3 separate regions of the Homo sapiens genome follow, and all the other regions are linked to region 2. The links are contacts of gene promoters, found by promoter capture Hi-C in human tissues and cell types (Jung and others, 2019). All regions are on one chromosome and are shown on one strand. The core of a region is centred on a gene start or on the middle of the fragment in contact, and the rest is flanking DNA. Distances in the headings are between cores, read along the strand shown.

Region 1 (3,785 bases), core at 1,065-3,564, 830 kb before region 2:
ACAACATGGATAAACTTTGAGTACATTATGCTAAGTAAAAGAAGCCAGTCACAGGACAAATACTTTATGATTCCACTTACATGTGGAATCTAAAATAGTCAACCTCATAGAAACAGAAATTAGAATGGTGGTTTCCAGGGGCTGGGGGAGGTGAGAAGACGTTACTCAACGAGTATAAAGTTTCTGTTATGCAAGATAATTAAGTTCTCTCTATACAGCAACTTGAATATATCTCCAGAGAATTGTGCTGAATGAAAAAAGCCAATTCCACCATTCACATACTGTATGATTCCATTTGTATAACATTCTTGAAATGACACAATTGTATATATGGAGGATAGACTAATGATCGAGTCTGGAGGAAAGTGAGTGTGGCTATAAAAGGGCAAGATGAAGGATCCTTGTGGAAATATCGGAAGAGATCCTTGTGATGGAAATGTTCTGTCTCTTGAATGGACCGACGTCAGTATCCTACTTGTGATATTGCAAGATGTTGCCCTTGGGTGAAATTACCTAAGAGACATAGGTCTCTCTGTATGATTTCTATATTATGTTTTACAACCTGACGTGAATAAATCCACATTTATCTCAGAATAAAATATTTCATTTAAATACATCATTAATCACCACCTAAGGCTAGCTGCTGTTGATGGTTTTGTGGCCACTTGGACATTCAGCAAATGTTTTTAAACTTGGCTTTGTGGTTTACTATAGAAAAGGGTCTCAGCCAGGCATCTGGTTCCTACCTTTCCTCTTGTGTAAGCTCCCCTGTCTGTATTACCCAACTAATCTGGAAAGTAGCTTGGCTGTGAAGATTGTTTATAAATCATAAAATGTGGAGACCAGGGGTCAGAACAAAGGAAACTCACAACAAGGATTAATGCTTTTTTTCTTATATCTAAAGATATAGGGAATTGACATTTAAAGATCTAGTTGTTTTTTATTTGCAATTCTAGAATCCAGCCACACCTCCTTCTATAAAATAGAACTAGTGTTCTGGTGATCCAAGCAGAGGAATATGGCTTCATACACAGAAACGGGCTGAGGAAAGCAGAAACAGAGAACAAGAGTGGATGGGTCATTTCAAAGTTACTTTCCCTATCATGGTTAAAGCAAAGGGGATTTCTTTTATCATGCCTGCTAAACTGGCCTGTTTGGGACTTGGCTATTATCTCTCTCTTTCTCTCCTGAGAGGAGGTCAGGTAACAACTTAGTTGGAGTTGGTGGCCTGGAACTTCAGCATGAGTAGCTCCATTTCGATTTGATCTGTTGGGCCTAGTGCAGGAACTCAGTCCAAACCGATAGTCTCCTATACATTTTATTCTACACCTATGCTCATTTTCTTCTTTGCACATCTGTATGCTTAAAAAGTGTTCTTTAAAGATAAGCATGATTATCAGGTTTAAAGTTGCCTGGGATGGTCCCTCAGGCCAGTCCATTGGCTGGACTGCAGAAATGTCTGCAGCAGATGTGACACGCCTCTTTTATCCCCCTCATTTCTCTGCCTCCACCCATCCCTTGTCCTTTTCTGTTTTCCTTCCTCCCTCCTCCCTCTCCTTACCCATTCTTTCCTCTCTTCAGCCTGTCCTGCCCTCCCCAACTCGACTTCCTCTTTCTTTCCTCCTTTTCCCACCCTTTTCTTCTTCCTTATAGTCCTTTCCACCTTCTCATCCCCCTTTCCACCCTTTCTTCCTTCTCCTCCTTGCCGTCTCCATTCTCTTCCTTTCCTGCCTCCCTGCCCCTCCCTCCTCCCACCCGCTCCCTCTTCTTTCTGTTGGTTCCTCTCCTCTCTGACCTGTTCTTTTCCCTTAGTCTCTCCCCAGCCCTTCCTCCTTCCCCTCCATCCTTCTTCCAACCCCTCCTCCTTCTCCATCTCTTCTTCTTCCTCCCCAGCTCTCCTCCCCAAGTCCCTCTCCATCCTCTCTCTTCTCCCCGCTCCTCCCCATCCCTCCTCCCCTTCCATCCTTCTTCCCACCTCTCCTACTTCTTTTCTCCCTCCTCCCCCCTTCCCTCCTGTCCCTCCTCCTCGCCCCTCCTTTCCCTCCGTCTTTCTTTCCACCCTTCCTCCCTCCGTCTCTTCTCTCTCCTTCCCTTTCCCTGCCTCCTCCCCCTCAATCCTCCCTCTCGCCCCAGCCTCCTTGGCCGCGGAGTCCTCTGTGAGATGGAGGAGCTCAGTTGGCTCCGCTCGGCTCCACTCGGCTGGGCTCGGCTGAAAAAAGCCGGGGGGAGGTGGCGCGCGCGGGTTTCTGGGAAGCGTAGTCCGGCGCAGTCCGCGCAGGCGCACTGCCGTCGGGCGGGCCTAGCGGGCGCGGTCATTGTCCTGGCAGAGCGGCGAGCCGGTGAGTGTGGCTGCGGGGTCGCGCCCACCCTCTACCTGTGCCGGGGGCCGGAACCTGGCCCCGGGGAGGGCGCGGCCTCGGGGAGACGGCGTGCAGGCCCAGGTACGGGGAGTGCAGGGCTGGGTGCTGGTCCAGGGCGTGCGGGCGCAGGAGAGGGCGTGCAGGCCGGGACCGAGGTGCGCCTGGAGAGGCTGAGCGGCCGAGGAGAGGCTGAGGGGAAGCTGAGGGGCTAAGGAGAGGCTGACTGGAGGCTGAGGGGCTGAGGAGAGGCCGGGGCCAGGGAGGGAGAGGCGTGAGTGGGTTGGAGGTAGGAAAGTTGCATGAACACGAGGGCCATCCTGGGGGGAAGGTGGCCTGTGTGAGAGACAGGCAGTGCATATCATCCTGAGGATGAGGCTGTGTCTTTGTGGATATTGTGAATGTGTCTGTGTGTGTGTCTGTGTGGGTCTGTATGTGTGTGTGAGACAGATTGTGTCGTCCTGAGGGTATGGCTGTGTCTCTGGATATTGTGATTGTGTGTGTGTGTTTGTGTGTGTGTGTGTGTGTGTGTGTGTGTGTGTGTATGAGACAGAGAGAGAAACTGCGTGTCGTCCAGAGGCTGGGTCTGTGAATGAATGTGAATGTGTCCATGTATGTCCGTGTGGGTCATGTGTGGTAGCGTGTGTGTGTGTGTGTCCCACTTCTTCAGAGTCTTGGTCTCTCTGTGGAGCTGTGTCTCTCCAGGTCTCTGCCTATGCATGTGTGGTGATATCTCTGAGTGACTGCCTGTGTCCTTGTCTTTGGTGTTGTGGGTGTGTCAGCCTTGATCTCTGTCCATGAGTGTCTCTGTGGGAGGGTGCCCTCTGGGTGTCCACTATGTCTGCTCTTTCCATGCATGTCTCTTGGCATGAGTGTAGGGCTGTGTCTTTCCAGGGGCCAGTCCTGTCTGGATCTTTCCTATCTCTGTGTGTCCACCTGTGTCTAGAGTATTTCTTGATGTTTGCGTGTGACTCTGCAGGGGTGGGTGCGTCTGGGTGTGCCTCTTCCAAAGACTATATGCCTGGACAAGGGAGCCTAGCAGAGCCACTACCTTCTCACCCTACGCTTCTCCTAGTCTGCCTGCCCACAGTTCCCTGGCTTTTTCCTGCCCATAGAAGGCTCTGGAGGCGTAGGGGCCTGGGAGTGACAGGGGCCGGGTGGAGGAGGGGAAAAGGAAGGCTGTTTCTTCTGCCTCCCACAGGATCTTCTTAAAGTGGGATCAGACTCCCAAAGGGTCTCTGTGCCCTACTCTGTTCTGACCAAGGAGAGGTTGATTTGTTCAGGGAATGTGTATGCAGCCAGTGCTGGCCATTTATAGATGTCCCAGTAACTCTGAGGTAGAGACCATCATCATCCTTATCTTACAGATGGGGAAACTGAGTCTCAGACTAAGTGACTCACCCAAGGCTACCTCAGGCATCCAGGTTC
Region 2 (3,547 bases), core at 463-2,962:
ACAGTAACACACATGGAGCTGTCATCTAAAATAACAATGCCTTTTTCTGGAATACCTCCTGAAGGACCTGCCCGAGGCTGTGTTACAGTTTGTGTGTATGTACACCTGTATATTTATAGACATACACACAACTCCATATATACTCTACTGTTGGAGAACACCTAATGATAAAAAGTGTAGTATGCTAAGAACATAAGCTAGTAACTCGTAAGTTTTATCTACTGTACATTATTGTATATGTTATACTTCTATATGACTGGCCTCACAGTAGGTTTGTTTATACCAGCATCACCATGAATATGTGATTAATATATTGCCTTACTACTGCTATCATGTCATTAGGCAATAAGCATTTTTCAGCTTCATTGTAATTTTATGGAACCACTGTCATGAATGTGGCCCATTGTTGACTGAAAAGTGAGGTGCATGATTATATATGTATGTGCCACTTTTCCTTTCATTAGTGGACATTTGGGTTGTTTCCACTCAGCTGTTGTTAATAGCAGATGAGCATGAATGTACAAATGTTTCTTTGAGGCTGTGCTTTAAATTCCTTTTGAGGATTTACTCAGAAGTAGAATTGGTGCTTTCTATGTTTTTTTTTTGTTTGTTTGTTTGTTTGTTTGTTTTTTGAGACGGGAGTCTCGCTCTGTCGCCAGGCTGGAGTACAGTGGCCTGATCTCAGCTCACTGCAGCCTCTGCCTCCGGGGTTCAAGCAGTTCTCCTGCCTCAGCCTCCCAAGTAGCTGGGACTACAGGCATGCACCACCATGCCCAGATAATTTTTGTATGTTTAGTTGAGACGGGGTTTCACCGTGTTGGCAAGGATGGTCTCAATCTCGACCTCATGATCCACTCACCTGTCCCCCTATGTTCATTTAAAAAATATTTTTAATTTTTTAAATTTCTGACTCACAATGTTCCCATTCTATGTTAATTCTGTTTTAAAATTTTTGAGGACTCTTCTATAGCAGCTGCATCATTTTTTAATTTAACTTTATTATTAATTTTTTTTTTTAGTAGTTTTACTGGGTTGAGTTTTTTTTTTTTCTTTAGGGTTATTTGGTTTTGAGATGTAGGAGTTTTTTAGTATATGTGGGGACTTCAGAAAGTTTGTGGAAACATGAAAGTAAAGGATACAAAAAGAAAACAAGTTTTATTTCTCAACATAAGCTCCATCAAGTTCAAGACAATTTTATAAGTGATGATACCAGGCATTTAGTCCATCCCTAAAGAAGTGAGGTTCCTGGGAATTTAACCTTGTCTATGCAATCTTTTTTAATATTAACTAAAGAAAAATGGGTGCCCTTTAAAGATTTTTTAAAAGTAGGAAACAAGAAGTCAGAAGGAGCCAAATCCGGACTGTAAGGTGGATGCCTTAGGGTTATCAGAATTCTTGTAAAGTTGCAGTTATTTGATGAGAGGAATGAGCAGGAGCATTGAAGTGAAGGACTCCTGGTGAAGCTTTCCCATGGGTTTTCTGCTAAAGCTTTAGCTAACTTTCTCAAAACACTCTCATTGCGGGCGCCGTGGCTCACGTCTGTAATCCCAGCAATTTGGGAGGCCGAGTTGGGCGGATCATCTGAGCTCAGGAGTTTGAGACCAGCCTGACCAACATGGAGAAACCCCCCTCTCTACTAAAAAATACAAAAATTAGCCTGGCGAGGTGGTGCATGCCTGTAATCCCAGCTACTCAGGAGGCTGAGGCAGGAGAATCGCTTGAACCCGGGAGGCGGAGGTGGCAGTGAGCCGAGATCACACCATTGCACTCCAGCCTGGGCAACAAGAGTGAAACTCCATCTCAAATAGTAATTAATAATAAAGCCATGTTTCATCTGTACAATTCTTCAAAGAAATGCTTCAGCATCTTGATCCTACTTGTTTAACATTTACATTGAAGGTTCTGCTCTTGTCTGCAGCTGATCTGGATTCAGTGGCTTTGGCACCCATTGAGTGGAAAGTTCGCACAACTTTAATTTTTCAGTCAGAATTGTGTAAGCTGAACCAATTCAGATGTCTGTGGTGTCAGTTACTGTTTCTGCTGTTAATCATCAGTCTTCTTCAATAAGGTCATGAGCAAGATGAATTTCTTCCTCGCAAATTGTTATTAATGGTTTGCCATTGTGGGCTGCGTGGTCAACATCATCTCATCTCTTCTTAAAACGTTATCAGGCCGGGCGCGGTGGCTCACGCCTGTAATCCCAGCACTTTGGGAGGCCGAGGCTGGTGGATCATGAGGTCAGGAGATCGAGACTATCCTGGCTAACACAGTGAAACCCCGTCTCTACTAAAAATACAAAAAATTAGCCGGGCGTGGTGGCGGGCGCCTGTACTCCCAGCTACTCCGGAGGCTGAGGCAGGAGAATGGCGTGAACCCGGGAGGCGGAGGTTGCAGTGAGTGGAGATCGTGCCACTGCACTCCAGCATGGGCGACAGAGTGAGACTCCGTCTAAAAAAAAAGAAAACAGGTTATCAGTTTGTAAACTCTGATTTCTCTGGGTCATTGTGCCCATAAACTTTTCTTTTTCTTTTTTTTGAGACGGAGTCTCACTCTGTCGTCTGGGCTGGAGTGCAGTGGCGCGATCTCAGCTCACTGCAACCTCCGTTTCCTGGGTTCAAGCGATTCTTCTGCTTCAGCCTCCTGTGTAGCTGGGATTACAGGCATGCGCCACCACGCCCGGCTAATTTTTGTATTTTTAGTAGTGATGGGGTTTCACCATATTGGTCAGAATGGTCTTGAACTCCTGACCTTGTGATCCGCCCAAACTCGGCCTCCCAAAGTGCTGGGATTACAGGCGCGAGCCACCGCACCCGGCCGGTTTTACCATTTTTAGAGCCAAGCTTTACTATATATTTGATATTTGTTCTTTCTTCAACCTTAGCTGAATTCACATTCCTCTGATAGAAGGTGTTTTCAAACTGATGCCGTTCTTAGTGCCTCAAACTAGATCCTGTTCATACTTGTTAGAACAAGTTATTACAAATTCACTTTGGTGTAAAAAATTGAAATCCATACATAATTTTTTTTTTTTTTTTTGACAGAGTCTCACTAACGCTAGGTTGGAGTGCAGTGGCATGATCTCGGCTCATTGCAACCTCCGCCTCCTGGGTTCAAGCAATTCTCCTGCCTCAGCCTCTTGAGTAGCTGGGATTACAGGTGCCCACAATCACGCCCAGCTAATTTTTGTATTTTTAGTAGAGATGGGTTTTCACTCTGTTGGCCAGGCTGCTCTCGAACTCCTGACCTCAGGTGATCCACCTGCCTGGGCCTCACAAAGTGCTGTGATTACAGGCTTAAGCCACCACCCCTGGCCAATTTTTTCATAATATACATTTTTTTCTCATTTTTCATGAAACTTTTGAAGACCCCTCATATTCTAGATATTCCTTCTCAGATATGTGGTTTTCAAATACTTTCTCCCATTGAGTCTTTTTCCTTTTCACTCTGTCCATTATGTCCTTTTTTACACAGGAATTTTGAATTTAAATGGAGTCTAATATATCTGTTTTATAAGTCTTTGATGCATTTGAGTTCATTTTAGCAACTT
Region 3 (3,619 bases), core at 908-3,407, 610 kb after region 2:
GTGGGCACCTGTAATCTCAGCTACTCTGGAGGCTTAGGCAGGAGAATCACTTGAACCCGAGAGGTGGAGGTTGCAGTGAGCCAAGATCACGCCTTTGCACTCCAGCCTGGGCAACAAGAGCAAGACTCTTTTTAAAAAAAACAAAACAAACAAACAAAAAAAAACTGAAACCTCTGCTAGACACCAGGCTGCCTCCCAATGGATCTAGAGTTACCAGGTGGCCTATGATGGTGTCTAGATCCAGACTCTAGAGACAGACTAAGTCAGTGTTCTCTCAAGGGAGATTTCCCAAATGGGTGGCAGTTATAAATGCACACATGAGCCTTCACTGCCCCAAAGGGCCACGCCAATTTCAGCTACCAAGAAAATGAACCATGTCATTACAAGTGCCTAATTTTCAAGAAGGAGAATAATAAGCCCTTAGCACCCTAATTTGGTTTTCCCATAGTGGTTTCTGCACAAAGTGGCATTCACACACAACATTCCAGGGACCAGCCGCCAGCAGCAAAGATGCGGAGACACGGCTCTGATTATCCAGCTGAGGCAGCCCCTCCCCTCCCTGCCACTCCTGGGACTCTTAATCTCCAGGCCTCGTTTTATTTTATTCTAGGTATTTATATTTCCATGAAGCATCTGCTTTGTTTACTGGTGTTTGCCCCATGAACATGGGCTTCCAAGGGACTAAAGCCCTATCAGTCCCTCTCACTGATGTGCTCCCACCCCAGTGTCCAGAACAGTGCCTGGTACACATAGGCCCTCAATAAACAGCTGTCCAGCAGATGCTGGACCCCCTGGAGGTGGGTCCTCCTCTCTTTTCTTAGCTCACACTCTCCTGCTTCTTCTTCAGCAATGAGCAGCTTCAGCTATCCTGAGCTCAGTCCCAGAGCTGAGGACCCTCCTTGCATCATGATCTCACCCCCACCTGATTTCAGATACAAAACGAGTATCTGTGGAACCCTACTATTCTGGCACATGGTTACATTGTAGACATTAATATTAAAACTTATTTATATGAAATGTTCTTATGTAAGGTTTCGTTAAAGTATATGAAATATAGGACACATTGATACTAATTCCTTGTTTTTCTTTTTCTTTCTTTCTTTTTTTTTTTTTTTTTTTTTTTTTGAGACAGAGTCTCACTCTGTTGCCCAGGCAAGGCTGGAGTGCGTTGGCAGGTCTCGGCTCACTGCAACCTCGGCTTCCCCAGTTCCAGCGATTCTCCTACCTCAGCCTCCCGAGTAGCTGGGATTACAGGCACGCACCACCATGCCTGGCTAATTTTTGTATTTTTAGTAGAGACGGGGTTTCACCATGTTGGCCAGGCTGGTCTGAAACACCCGACCTCAGGTGATCCGCCTGCCTCGGCCTCCCGAGTTCTGGGATTACAGGCGTGAGCTATCGCGCCCGGCCTCCTTGTTTTTCTTGAGTTTACATATAACTGAGGTTTCTTTTTTCTTTCTTTTTTTTGGGGGTGGGGGGACGGAGTCTCGCTCTGTCACCCACGCTGGAAAACTGGAGTGCAATGGAGCAATCTCGGCTCACTGCAACCTCCGCCTCCCCGGTTCCAGTGATTCTCCTGTCTCAGCCTCCTGAGAAACTGGGATTACAGGCATGCGCCACCACGCCCAGGTAATTTTTGTATTTTTAGTAGAGACGGGGGTTTCACCATATTGGTCAGGCTGGTCTCGAACTCATGACCTCGTGATCCGCCTGCCTTGGCCTCCCAAAGTGCTGGGATTACAGGCGTGTCACCGCGCCCGGCCGACGTCCTGTATTTTTATTTGCTAAGAGTGGCGATCCTAGTCTGGGACATACTTGTACTAAACATATTTATATTAAAAACAATGTTTTAACATACTACTCTTGGACACTGTATAAAACGGTTGCGTGTCTGGAATGCCGTCGTTTTGCCCCGCGGCCCCATCGTACATGCGCATCCCCGCAGCCGCCACCGTCTCCACTTTCCGCAGCAGCGTCCCTGACGCTGCGCGACCCGTTGCCAAGGCGACTGGAACCGCGGCCCGAGGTAACTGGAGGGCACGGCGGGGGCGGGGCGCTCATCCCAGGCGGCTTCTGATTGGCCTCGGCCGCCTCGTGCGTCACAGCCCCGCCCCTGCCCGGGAGTCCCGCAGCGGTGACTTGTCACCGACGCCCGGCGTGATCCAGCGGACCAATGGCGGCCGCCCGCGGCGCGCAGGGTGCGGGGATGGGGTCCGCCCGCGGCGTTGGGCGCGCTCGCCAGCCCAGGGGTCGCCATGACCGAGTGGCCCAGGCCCGAGCGAAGCCCGCGCGCGGTGAGTCCGCCGCGGCCCATCCGTCCCTCCGCCCGCCAGAGCGTCCATCGGGACGCCCACCCGGGAGGGTCTCGGCGCCGCGTCGGCGGGAGCTGGCCCGGGATCGCGGTCCAGGGGCGCGCGTCGGGGGAGGCGGGCCCGGGCCCGGGAGGGGGCGGGCCGGGCCGGGGTTCCAGAGCCCATCGGGAGTCCTGAGGTCGCCGTAGGGGAGGGAAGGGGAAGGCTAGAGGCCACGCGGGGCGGGGACTGGGGGGGCTGGGGCCGCCCCTTCCGCAGGGACCCCGACCCCTGTTGGCATCCGCCTGTCCGTTTGAGGCCGAAGCCCCTCTACGTACCCCCATTGCCCGCCCAAACACCGCTCGGCCGCGTCCAAGTTCTCCCTTCCACACCTGATCAGCATCCCGGGACCTATCTCCCTCCTGAACAGCCGCCCCCGGACCCATCTCCCTCCCTACCCGGCCCCTTGGGCCCATCCCCCACTGGAACAGCAGCCCCCGACCCGTCTCTCTCCCTACAAGCTCCCCCTCCCCGCCCCAGGCCCATCTCCCTCCTGAACAGCCGCCCCCGACCCATCCCCCACCCAATCACCCCACCATCCTCCCCCCAACCAGCCGTCCACAGCCGTCGTCGCTGCCCCTCCCCTGTATTCCCAGTGCGCTGCCCTTGCACACTTCCCCAGCTCGTTTATTATGGAACTCCTCCGTGTGGCATCCTAAGCTCCCAACGCCCTCCCCACTGTAAGCCCCCTTCTCAAAGCCAGAACCATTCACTGACTGGCGCAGTGAACACGTCTTCTATGTCACTAAGCATCCGGCATCAGCGGCAAAGCCCTTCTGCCCATCCCCGCAATAGAATTTGGGGCTCGGGCTGCAGATCTCAGTGCCCATGCCAGGTGAACCTGGCCCTTCCACAGGCACTGAGCCCTCCAAGTGACACTCTCTCACACACACACATCCCCAACATTAATCAGAGACCCCTACCAAAGTAGACTTCTAGGACCCCAGGGCCACCACAGCATTGCCCATGGGGGGGCCCAGATCCTCCTCACCAGCCATGTAGACCTCAGTCCCCTTCACATCATCCCAGGCCCTCTTCATCTTCCAGAAACAGCCACCCATCAGTCCAGGACTCTCATCAGCTCAGGTACCCCCACATTGGCCTAGGTGTTCCACATCAGCCCCCATATAGACCCCAGACACACCCATGGACCTCTGGTGCCTTCTGCTAAGACCTCCTCTTTACCCTCATCCCTGATAAACTTAGCATCTCCTCCCACAGACCTCAGCCCAGGACCCTGGAGGATGCTGAGGGGCTACAGCCCCCCT

The links. Contacts are between HindIII fragments. The study calls those that stand out against the background at their distance.
Region 1: the fragment with the promoter of ZNF71 here is called in contact with a fragment that was not itself captured in region 2 in 1 of the 25 tissues and cell types used here (dorsolateral prefrontal cortex).
Region 3: the fragment with the promoter of ZSCAN1 here is called in contact with a fragment that was not itself captured in region 2 in 3 of the 25 tissues and cell types used here (dorsolateral prefrontal cortex, pancreas and stomach).

The regions. Positions count from the first base shown.
Region 1 is chr19:56,592,988-56,596,772 of GRCh38, forward strand. ZNF71 (zinc finger protein 71) reads left to right here and starts at 2,315. Exons shown (of 4, transcript NM_001370215.1): 1 at 2,315-2,441. ZNF71-SMIM17 (ZNF71-SMIM17 readthrough (NMD candidate)) reads left to right here and starts at 2,315. Exons shown (of 5, transcript NR_163263.1): 1 at 2,315-2,441. RefSeq lists a silencer at 2,277-2,666. The HindIII fragment of the contact is 26,997 bases long and covers 1-3,785 here.
Region 2 is chr19:57,422,900-57,426,446 of GRCh38, forward strand. No RefSeq gene overlaps it. Among named protein-coding and RNA genes, the nearest start is that of ZNF749, 11 kb to the right of the region's middle. The HindIII fragment of the contact is 4,324 bases long and covers 1-3,547 here.
Region 3 is chr19:58,031,868-58,035,486 of GRCh38, forward strand. It overlaps ZSCAN1 (zinc finger and SCAN domain containing 1), which reads left to right and starts at 2,158. Exons shown (of 6, transcript NM_182572.4): 1 at 2,158-2,294. The HindIII fragment of the contact is 19,074 bases long and covers 1-3,619 here.